Linked DNA regions of Homo sapiens: region 1 is linked to region 2. The links are contacts of gene promoters, found by promoter capture Hi-C in human tissues and cell types (Jung and others, 2019). All regions are on one chromosome and are shown on one strand. Each heading gives the region's core, a stretch centred on a gene start or on the middle of the fragment in contact. The rest is flanking DNA. Distances are from core to core; before and after follow the strand shown.

Region 1 (5,550 bases), core at 762-3,261, 55 kb after region 2:
TGGAAACACTAGTAAAACAATTCCTCAGCCTCGACCCCAGGGAGCGGCCCCCACTAAACCAGCTGACGTGGGACCCCTGGGTCAATGCTGGCCAGGAGATGCGGCTGACATCAAAGACCCTGGGCCCCTGGGCCCCCTACAACCCTGGTCACGGTGGCCATGGGATTCCAGGCAGCACACATCTCAGAATCAGTATTTCCCCCACCCCACAAAAAATACATATATGGGTCGGGCGCGGTGGCTTGCGCCTGTAATCCCAGCACTTTGGGAGGCCGAGGCCGGCGGATCACGAGGTCAGGAGATCGACACCATCCTGGCTAACACGGTGAAACCCCGTCTCTACTAAAAATACAAAAAATTAGCTGGGCGTGGTGGCGGGTGCCTGTAGTCCCAGCTACTTGGGAGGCTGAGGCAGGAGAATGGCATGAACCCGGGAGGCGGAGCTTGCAGTGAGCCGAGATCACACTACTGCACTCCAGCCCAGGCGACAGAGTGAGACTGCGTCTCAAAAAAAAAAAAATTATATGCACAAATATGGGCATCGCTGGTAAGAAGAGTGGCAAAAACACAAGTGGTTCTCTTGTTTTGGGCTCAGACATGTGACTGTGGCATCACAGGCCCCCGGGATTTAGAATTCTTCTGAAAGGCATCCTGTGCACTCCCGAGCACCAGCTTGAACAGATGAAAAGGCTGAGCTGGAGGGGCTGGGACACAGTCCACCTTGACGACAGCTGCTCCTGGCTGTGCGGGGGGCCCCAGGAAAGGCCGTTCCCCCACTAGGACCGCCAGGCCCTACAGAGGCTCAAACTCCTTTGCTGTTTGGAATCTTCCCTCCCCAGCCCCCAAGCCTCATCAGAGGCTGCCTTTTCTGTTCACTGACCACAGCTGCTTTGACTCCATTAGCCTCGAGCTCCTGGAAGAAAAGAAAGAACCTTGTTTTCCCTGGGCTCAATGCCAAGAGACCATGGGCAGTTGCTCAAGATTCACTTGTGAAACTCCGGATCTCAGGAGGAGGGAAGCTTGGGACAAATACCGAGCCTCCCACCCCCACTCCAACTCTGTTACTGAGCACTTTACGGAAGGAGCAGGTAGGCCCCGCCACAGCTTCATCAAGGGTGGACTGGGATAGCTTCTGTGCTAATACAAACATCAGGCCTCCCTGCCAGACAGCCCACCCCATGGAGCCAGCCTGGCACCGGGCCAGCCTCCAGCCATAACTGCAAAAGAGCAGGAGAGCCCGGAATAGCAGGCCCTCTTCAGCGAGCTTCAGCCGCTTTGCCCATAGGCTGCAGGGTTTGGGTCCGCTGCCATAAATAGCTCCCAGACCATCTTTGGTAATATAGGCCTTTGCCTTAGTATTTACTACATCCAAATAGGCTTTATAGTAAGAGTAGTGAAACAATAGGTTTTGTTTTGTTTTTCGTTTTTTGTTTGTTTGTTTCTTTTTTGAGACGGAGTCTCACTCTGTCGTCCAGGCTAGAGTGCAATGGCACAATCTCGGCTCACTGCAACCTGCACCTCCCAGGTTCAAGCAATTCTCCTGCCTCAGCCCCCCGAGTAGCTGAGATTACAGGTGCCCACCACCATGCCCGGCCAATATTTTGTACTTTTAGTAGAGACGGGATTTGGCCATGTTGGCCAGGCTGCTCTCAAATGCCTGACCTTGTGATCCACCCGCCTTGGCCTCCCAAAGCGCTGGGATTACAGGCGTGAGCCACTGCGGCTGGCTGTGATAGAGTTTTTGAATCCTCTTTTTTTTTTTTCCCAGAGACAGGCTCTCACTCTGTTGCCCAGGCTGGAGTGCAGTGGCACAATCATAGCTCACTGCAGCCGCGACCTACTGGGCTCCAGTGAACCTCCTGCCTCAGGCTCCTGAGTAGCTGGGACTACAGCCACCATGCTCTGCTAATTTTTTTTTATTATCTAGTGTAGAGACAGGGTCTGGCTATGTTGCCCAGGCTGCTCTTGAACTCCTGGCCTCAAGCGATACTCCTGCCTCAGCCTCCCAAAGTGCCGGGATATCCGGCATGAGCCACTGCACCTGGCCAAGTTTTTAAATCTTTCAGTCACAGACTAAATAAAACAGTCACCTACAAGTTCTACAAGTTCAGCCTTTTTTTTTTTTTTTTGAGATGGAGTCTCGCTCTGTCACCCAGGCTGTAGTGCAGTGGCACGATCTTGGCTTACCACAACCTCTGCCTCCCAGGTTCAAGCGATTCTACTGCCTCAGCCTCCCAAACAGCTGGGAGTACAGGCGCCTGCCATGCTGGCCAGCTAATTTTTTTGTTTTTAATAGAAACCGGGTTTCACCATGTTGGTCAGGCTGGTCTTGAACTCCTGACCTCAGGTAATCTGCCTGGCTCGGCCTCCCAAAGTGCTGGGATTACGGCGTGAGCCACCATGCCCAGCCTAAGTTCAGCCTTTCATGCTTGTCTTGAGTTGTCCAATACTGGAAAATGCCAGCTCACACTGATGAGAAGCTCCTACTCTTTGGGGCTACCTATGAGCCCACTTTGAAATCCCGAGGTTGAAAGTCCTGAACATGAAAGATAAGCTGTCTGGCAAGTTAGGATGGGCATTGATGGAGAAATGCCTTACAGCTTGAGTAGTACTTTTTCACCTAACCACTTAAACGGTTATTATAAAATGGGACACTGAGAAATTAGAAGAGTGACTTAATCCCACCTGCTCAATTGAAGCTCCTCTGATAGGTGAATTTAATTAGGAAATTGTTACTTATGGTATCAATTACATGGTCAGCTCAAGCCTCAAATTCAGCTGACTTTAGTTTCAAAATCAACTGCAATTTTGTTTTTTAAGGAGCCTGGGGTCTTGCTATTGTGCTCCAGCCTGGCCTTGAACTCCTGGTCTCAAGGGATGCTTCCACCCCAGCTTGCTGAGTATCTGGGACTGCAGGCACGTGTCACTGTGCCCAGCTGTTTTTTTTTTTCTTCTTTGGTAGAAAAAGTGCCATTAGCTGTAATCCTACATTAAAGAGAATACTTTGACAATAGATTCGTCTCTTCCTTTAGCCCCCTCCAACCTTCCAGATAAAACCCCACCCCAAAGAACACAGGCAAAGAAGATACATCAGCCTCAATAATTTATTGCAAACTCCCTAATATCACATGCTAGTGCGCTTGCGAATTCACTCAGGAATGTTCCGGGATGGGGGCCAGAAGGTAGAGAGCACCATGAAAGTACAGCCTGCGAGGCCAGATTGCTAAGGGGCAGACTTCATGCCAATGGAGGGACAGACTTCAGGACCAGTCTGGATGGGCTAAGCTGCCTTGGGCAGGAAGGAGCTGGATCAGGCCAGGAGCTTGAGGTTCTCCTTTGGCCAACCCACCCCAGGTTTCCAGCTCCTCCTCCTCACTCAGGGTCCTGCGCGGTGAGGGAGGTGTGGGGAGGTTCGCGGCTCTACAGCTGCCAGGCTTGTGGGCACTACCAGTTAAGCGTGAGGCCCCCAGTCAGTCCTTCACTGGGGAAAGCTTCCAAGGACTTGGGCTTTCACTGCAGTATCTTCAGACAGGTCGGGATAAGGGATGAGGCCTTGCCCTTGGGGGGCTGCCCTTCCTCCGTAGCATCGAGGAGCTGCTGCAGGTAACAGGAGGTGCCAAGCAGTACGTGGCCTGTGGCCTGCATGCTGAAGAGGGCCCAGCGGAAAGCTTCCCTGGGTGGAATGAGAGGGCACGCAAGTCAAAACCACGAAGTAGGTCGGGCATGGCGTTCACGCCTGTAATCCTAGCACTTTGGGAGGCCATGGAGGGCGGGTAACCTGAGGTCAGGAGTTTGAGACTAGCATGGCCAACATGGCGAATCTCTGTCTCTACTAAAAATACAAAAACTAGGCAGGCATAGTGGTGGGTGACTGTAATCCCAGTTACTCCAGAGCCTGAGGCAGGAGAATCGCTTGAACCCAGGAGGCGGAGGTCACAGTGAGCCGAGGTGGCACCACTGCACTCCAGCCTGGGTGACAGAGCAAGATTCAGTCTCAAAAAACAATCAAACAAAAAACACAAGGCTGGGCTTGGTGGCTCATGCCTGTAATCCTATAACTTTAGGTGGCCGAGGTGGGTGGATCATTTGAGGTCAGGAGTTTGAGACCAGCCTGGCCAACATGGCGAAACCCCGTCTCTACTAAAAAATACAAAAAATTAGCCGGGCGTGGTGGCAGACACCTGTAATCTCAGCTACTCGGGAAGCTGAGGCACGAAAATCACTTGAACCTGGGAGACAGAGGTTGTAGTGAGCTGAGATTGTGCCACTGCACTCCAGCCTGGGTGACAGAGTGAGTCTCTGTCTCAAAAATAAATAAATACATAATAAATAAAAACAAGAGTGTACCCCCTCCCTGCACCCCCTTATTCCCATGCTGGCCTGGAAGGGATTGGTTTCATTATGTTTGTTTTCTTCATTAATAACATTTGAATACCACTGAGGTGGTAGCACTAAAAGCATTTCATCAATTCTAGAGCGATGTGCAAATAGGAACAGATGCTGCAGATGGGATCAAGATTAGTGCGAGGACCTGCAATTCCACCTTAACTGAGATGCCCGGAACCTCCCTACTTTCTCATGCAAAACCCCAGCTCATTTCATAAGGCTTTTATTTTTCTACTACTACTTTGGACCAACCAGATTAATCTCCATAACATGGTTCTGCACCTTGAGACACTCTGTTCTAGACTCTGAGGCCTGTCCAAGCCACCTGCAGTCTAGCTCATGTTCAGAGTGCTGGACATGAAGACATCCATGCCTGGCATGAGCATGTACTGAGAACAGAACCTGAATCAGGCAGGCCTAAGTCCTAATCCAGTCTTATTAGCTGGGTGAACTTCAGCAAACTGCTCTAGCTTTGAGCTTCAGCTTCCTCATGGGTAAAATGGGATTGCACCTGCCACCCAGGGTCATAAGGCTGAAATAGCATAAAGCAATTAACATGGGGTTGGATGTTTGGAAAGTAGGGGAAATGGGGAAGCGGGAGCGGGTTCTAACCTCACATATTCTCATGCTTCTTGAGACATTTGGTTAGACTTTCAAAAATAAGTTTTAAGAAAAGTTCATTATATAGTACAAATGACTCTGGTCCATAAGACTTGCAAATTAATTCTGTCATATGGAGGGAAGATTATTTCATCCCTCCCATTCCCACAGGGGAAAAAGCCCAATTTTGTATGTATACATTTATCTCTCTTTTTCTTCGTTTTAGAGACAAGGTCTCATGCTGTTGCCCAGGCTGGAGTACACAGTAGTATGGTCATATCTCACTGCAGCCTCAAACTCCTGGGCTCAAGCAATCCTCCCACCTAGCTGGGATTATAGGTACATACTACCACTGCCAGCATTTTGTGTGTGTGTGTGTGTGCGCACACACGGGCGTGTGATAAAGACAGGGTCTCACTGTGTTGCCGAGGCTGGTCTCAAACTCATGGGCTCAACAGATCCTCCTGCCTTGACCTCCCAAAGTGCTGGGATCCCAGGTGAGAGCTGCTGCACTCAACCTATCTCATCATTCTTCCTGGACCTGTATATATGTGGGATTTTGAA
Region 2 (5,010 bases), core at 961-3,460:
CTTCAAGAAGGGTGAACCTTTGAGCTGAGCTTTCAAAAGGGATTCCTCCAGATGGCCAGAGGGGTTTCTTCTGATGGGGTGGACAAGGTGATGTTAAAGGGAGGAGGGGGTAAGGGCAACTTGGAACAGCTATTGCCCCCCTCCTCCCCCCCCCTTTTTTTTTTTCATTTTTGAGACAGGGTCTCGCTTTGTTACCCAGGCTGGAGTGCAGTGGCGCAAGCATGGCTCACTGCAGCCTCAGCTTCCCCAGGCTCAAGTGATTCTCCCACCTCAGCTTCCTGAGTAGCTGGGACCACAGGCCTGTGCCACCACGCCCAGCTAATTTTTTTGTTTTTGGTTTTTGTTTTTTTTTAGGTCTCACTATGTTGCCTCGGCTGCCTTGGGTGATCCCCCCGCCTCAGCCTCCCAAAGTGCTATCATCTCCTTTATGACATTACCTCTGTGACCTACCTCGCCACCCCTCTGAATTAGGTGTTCCCTCCTCCAGGGCACATGGCTATGTTCTAGCTTTGCAGTGAATGTTAAAGGTGCTCACAGTGAAACTGGGTGACTAATAGGATATAGCAGCTGGTCACTCAACAACCCTCACAGGACAGCATTGCCTGGGTGAGCCAGCCACAAACCTCATTTGTCATGTATCTCTCTCCCAGGGTCCAAATTCCCTAAATCACCTTTCCTGGGGGGCATGCTTTTCGGGAAGTCCAGCCATCAGCTAAAGGGGAGTTGGGGTCAGCTGGACAGGAAGGTGGGGGATCCACCTTCACTCTTAAGAGCACATCTACCCAGTGACTGACAAAGCTGGGCTCTTACCAGGACACTCTTCGACTCTGCCTGCGGGGGCACTGCTAGAGTTTGCCTCTCAAACTGTCCCTGTGTGGTCCTTCTGTGACTGGCAGGCAACCTGAGTGATAACAGGTGTTTAAGAGACAGGCTTTGGAGTCAGACCTGGGTTCCAGTGCTGCCTCTGCTCTGTGATTTGAGGCAAATTGTTTAACATCTTGGAGCCTTACCTCCCCTGTGACTTTTGAGGATAATATTTTGCCAGTGCTTCCAAAAAGGTTGCTTACAGTCTTAGCCTGGGGGCCAGGCATAACTGTTGTGAACTATTACATTTCTTTCGCAGTTGACTCAAATGATTGTTTTTCCATTTCCAGTTTCTGGGGAGGGTGTGCTCTGCACCTTCTTGTTACCCCCATATGCTGCCCTCGCTAAGGACCTTACCCTAGGCCCATCTGCCAGGCCCAGCAGGTCTGATCTGGCCTCACCAGGCTCCAGCCACCCTGGCTGTCTTGTAGTTCGCACAGAGGTTCTTACCCTTCTCAGGGCTGTTGCTGGGACTGTCCCTTCCCTGAAGTGCAGTTCCTCCCCTTTCCCTGGTGACTCCTGACTCCTGGCATTTACACCTTCAGCTTAAATGCGCCACTTTATCTAAAATGCGCCCCCTTCCTGGTTTCACCTCTGCTTGTTCATTGCCCTTATTATACCTGTAAACTATTCTCTTCCTTTGTTACTTGCTTTTTATTCCCCTCACACTGGGCTTTTAGTAAGCTCCATGAGGTCAGGGGCCATTTGTTAGCGCCTATAAATACTGTGGAATCACTCAAACCCTAGGGCCGGTGGCACCAGGAAGTACTGGATAAGGAACCGCAACACTAACTAACTGGGGCTCAGTGCTCTCTTCCGCCTTCAGTGCCCTGCTCATCAAGGGTCTGGGTGAGGCCCCAGGTCATAAGGAAGCCCTCGCTCGACTGCCCCGGGGCCCATCGCAGCCCCCAACCAGCCCCGAGCGGTCTGATGGTGCCCAGGGAATGGTTTCCAAGGCAATAGCAAACGGGGCGGGGCTTGGAACGGAGGACAAGGCTCGAGCCTAGGCAGGAACTTCCCGGGAGAGGAGGCGGCGACGCGGAGGGGCGCGGGATCAGGGGCCCTGGGAGGGCGAGCGCGGCGAGGGGCGCATGCAGGGCCCCGACGCGCCACTGCTCCTGAGCGCGAGGGAGCTGGGGCCCGGGCGCCGGGGCTCGGCCTCCTGGTACCGCCAGGAGGGCGGCGCGGTGTGCAACTGGCTGCGGAAGCCGCAGCCGCTCGAGCCACGCACCAGTTTCCCCTCGGCGCGCCGCTCCGAGTTCCGTCCACCCAGGAGGCTGCCATGGGCCGGCCCTGCCTCCGCCCAGTCCGAGGAGGGTCACGCAGGCGGCAGATGCCAGGCGGGCAGCCCCGCCCCTGCGCGCCGCCTCAGCGGCGCCTTCAAGACGCTGGTCCCAGGCACCCACGCCCAGGGCGCCTCGGATACCCACCCCCTCGGCCCCCCGCACACCCCGGTCCTCGACCCCTCTCCGCAGGATGGTGAGGCCCGTGCGGCCCGCTCGCTCTGGCCTACAGCGGCTGCGAGGACGACAAGACGCTGGGGTGGAGGGACTGGGGGTCGGGAGAAGAGCGGCTGAGGGTGGGCATCTGGATGAAGGCAGGAGGAAGAAAAGAGGCGTGGCTATGGGCGGCCAGAAAAGATCCTAGGCCGAGACCCTAGGCCCAGCCTCAGTGTACCCCGCCCCTATTCCGCATCTTTCTGCAGGTTTCCCGGTCCTCTGGCGAGGATCCTCCAAGGCGTCTCACATGAACCGGCTCAGAAACGCCAAAATCTACGTGGAGAGAGCTGTCAAGGTCAGAGGAGGGGCAGGGGCGCTTAGAAAGGGCCCTGGGAGCGGCTCAGCCTGTCTCCCTGCGCTGTTTTCTTATATCCTTAAAAAACAAAAGCAAAAGAAAAAACAATAGCAAAAATCCTCAACCACCACACCCATCTTCAACTACCTCCCCGTTTACCCCTTCAGCACCAAACTTCTGGGCTCCCTCCACTCTGGTTCCCTGCGATGTCCCACTCTAATCAAGGTGCCTGGTGAGTTCCAGGGAGCCAAACCCAGCAGTGCCTTTCGGTCTTGATCTCGGTTGGGCACCCTGTATCTTTCGACACCGCTGCCCCACACACCCTTCCTCTTGGCTGTCTGACTGCACGCTCCTAGTTTTCCTTTCTCCCTCTTTGGCTGCTGCTTTTCAGCGGCCTTTAAAGGTTCCTCAGCCATTAGTGGCCCCCTGGCCCCTTCCCCAGGTCTGTCTCCTTTGGCTGTGTCCTTGGCTGAGTCCAGTCAGTGTGCTGCACCCTCTCCGTGCCCCTTCCAGCCCAGCCTCGAACTCCACATCCCGTAGATCTAGCCCCTACCTGTCATCTACACCCAGAAAACTTAACAAGCATTTCAAATTCATGTCCCAAACCAGACTTTGATCTTCCTGCCCAAACCTGTCGTCCTCCCCAGTCTCCAGTCTTTCCCATCTCTCAGTTCCTCACGCCAGAAATCTCATCTTTCTGTTTCTTCACCCACAGGTCTAATTCCATCAGCAAAACCACTTGTCATCTCCACCTCCAAAACGATTCTCAACTCTAGCACCTTCTCCCGTCTGTGTTGTAACCACCTTCATTTTAGTAATTGTGATTTCTCTCCTAGGCAAACTATGACAGCCTCCTAGCTGGTCTACCTCCATCCTGTCCCCTCATCTTTTTGTAATACAGCAGCAAGCCAAGCTTAGAAAGATTCCCTCAGTTAGCCTTTTTTGCTCATGACACTCTTAGTATGAAATCCAAGTCCGTTCCAAGGCCTGCAGGGCCTTCCACAGTCTGGCCACTGCCTACCTCCTCTGGGGCTTTCCCCATCATTTTCCATGTTCCACTCACTCTGGTCTCCCTTCAGTTCCTTCTGACCTCTCTCCAGCCTCAAGGCCTTTGCACATGCATTCCCCTCTGCCTGAACCGCCATTTCCCAGCTCTGTACATTCATGGCTTCCTTTCAACCTTCCCTGACCATGTATTTCTAAGTAGTTTCTCTGGATCCCATTAAGTATGCAGTTTCTGGAGCCAAACTGCCAGGATGTAAATCCCTGCTCTTTTGCTTAACCACTATGGGGCCTCAGGCACCCTGCTTAATTTCTCTATGCCTCTGTTTCATAGCCCGTAAAATGGAGATAACAGTATCTAATAAAAATGCATAGTATTGGCCAGACGCGGTGGCTTACACCTGTAATCCCAGCATTTTGGGAGGCCAAGTCAGGAGGATCACTTGAGGCCAGGAGTTGGAGACCAGCCTGGCCAACACAGTGAAGCCCAGTCTCTACCAAAAAATATAAAAATTATTTGGGCACCAGATGAGGTGGCTGACGCCTGTAATTTCAGCACTTTGGGAGGCCAAGGCGGGCCTTGGCCTGAGGCCAGGAGTTCAAGACCAGCGTGGCCAATATGGTGAAACCCTGTCTCTACTAAAAATACAAAAATTAGCCGGGCGCAGTGGCACACGCCTGTACTCCCAGCTACTGGGGAGGCTGAGGCAGGAGAATCGCTCGAACCCGGGAGGTGGAGGTTGCAGTGAGCCAAGATTGTGCCACTCCAGCCTGGGCAACAGAGCAAGACTCCGTCTCAAAAAAAAAAAATTATCTGGGCGTGGTGGCATACACCTGTAATCCCAGGTACTCAAGGAGACTGAGGCAAGAGAATCGCTTGAACCCAGGAGGAAGAGGGTGCAGTGAGCCGAGATTGTGCCACTACACTTCAGCCTGGGCAACAGAGTGAGACCCTGTCTCAAACAAAACAAAATAAAAACACACAGTATTGTTAGTAATGCATGTAAGTGCTCAGCATGTAGTAGGTCCTCAATAAATATTAGCCATTGCTATTATCATTATTACCATGCATATTTATTTCTCTACTTATTTATAGTCTGTTTATTTCTCCTAATGGAATATAAAAATTTCCTGATGGCAGAGTCCATAACTGTCTGGTTCACCTTTATATCCCCTATGTCTGGCACTTATGCAATACTTATTGAAGAAGTATCCTTCTCTCACATTGCAGCAGAAGAAGATCTTTACAATCCAAGGCTGCTACCCGGTGATCCGGTGTCTCTTGCGCCGGAGGGGCTGGGTGGAGAAGAAGATGGTCCATCGCTCAGGCCCCACCCTGCTGCCACCCCA

The links. The method cuts DNA at HindIII sites, captures the fragments that hold promoters and counts their contacts. A contact is called where the count stands out against the background at its distance.
Region 1: a contact is called between a fragment that was not itself captured here and the fragment with the promoter of TTLL3 in region 2, in 2 of the 25 tissues and cell types used here (IMR-90 fibroblasts and mesenchymal stem cells).

Annotation. Positions count from the first base shown.
Region 1 is chr3:9,863,624-9,869,173 of GRCh38, forward strand. It overlaps CIDEC (cell death inducing DFFA like effector c), which reads right to left. Exons shown (of 7, transcript NM_001321142.2): 7 at 3,091-3,673. The coding sequence ends at 3,511. Among named protein-coding and RNA genes, the nearest start is that of CIDEC, 14 kb to the right of the region's middle. RefSeq lists a silencer at 462-756. The HindIII fragment of the contact is 3,135 bases long and covers 445-3,579 here.
Region 2 is chr3:9,808,052-9,813,061 of GRCh38, forward strand. It overlaps TTLL3 (tubulin tyrosine ligase like 3), which reads left to right and starts at 2,211. Exons shown (of 14, transcript NM_001387446.1): 1 at 2,211-2,343; 2 at 2,570-2,658; 3 at 4,892-5,010. The coding sequence starts at 2,611. It overlaps ARPC4-TTLL3 (ARPC4-TTLL3 readthrough), which reads left to right. Exons shown (of 12, transcript NM_001198793.1): 5 at 4,892-5,010. RefSeq lists an enhancer at 1,283-1,432 and a silencer at 1,913-2,392. The HindIII fragment of the contact is 8,240 bases long and covers 1-5,010 here.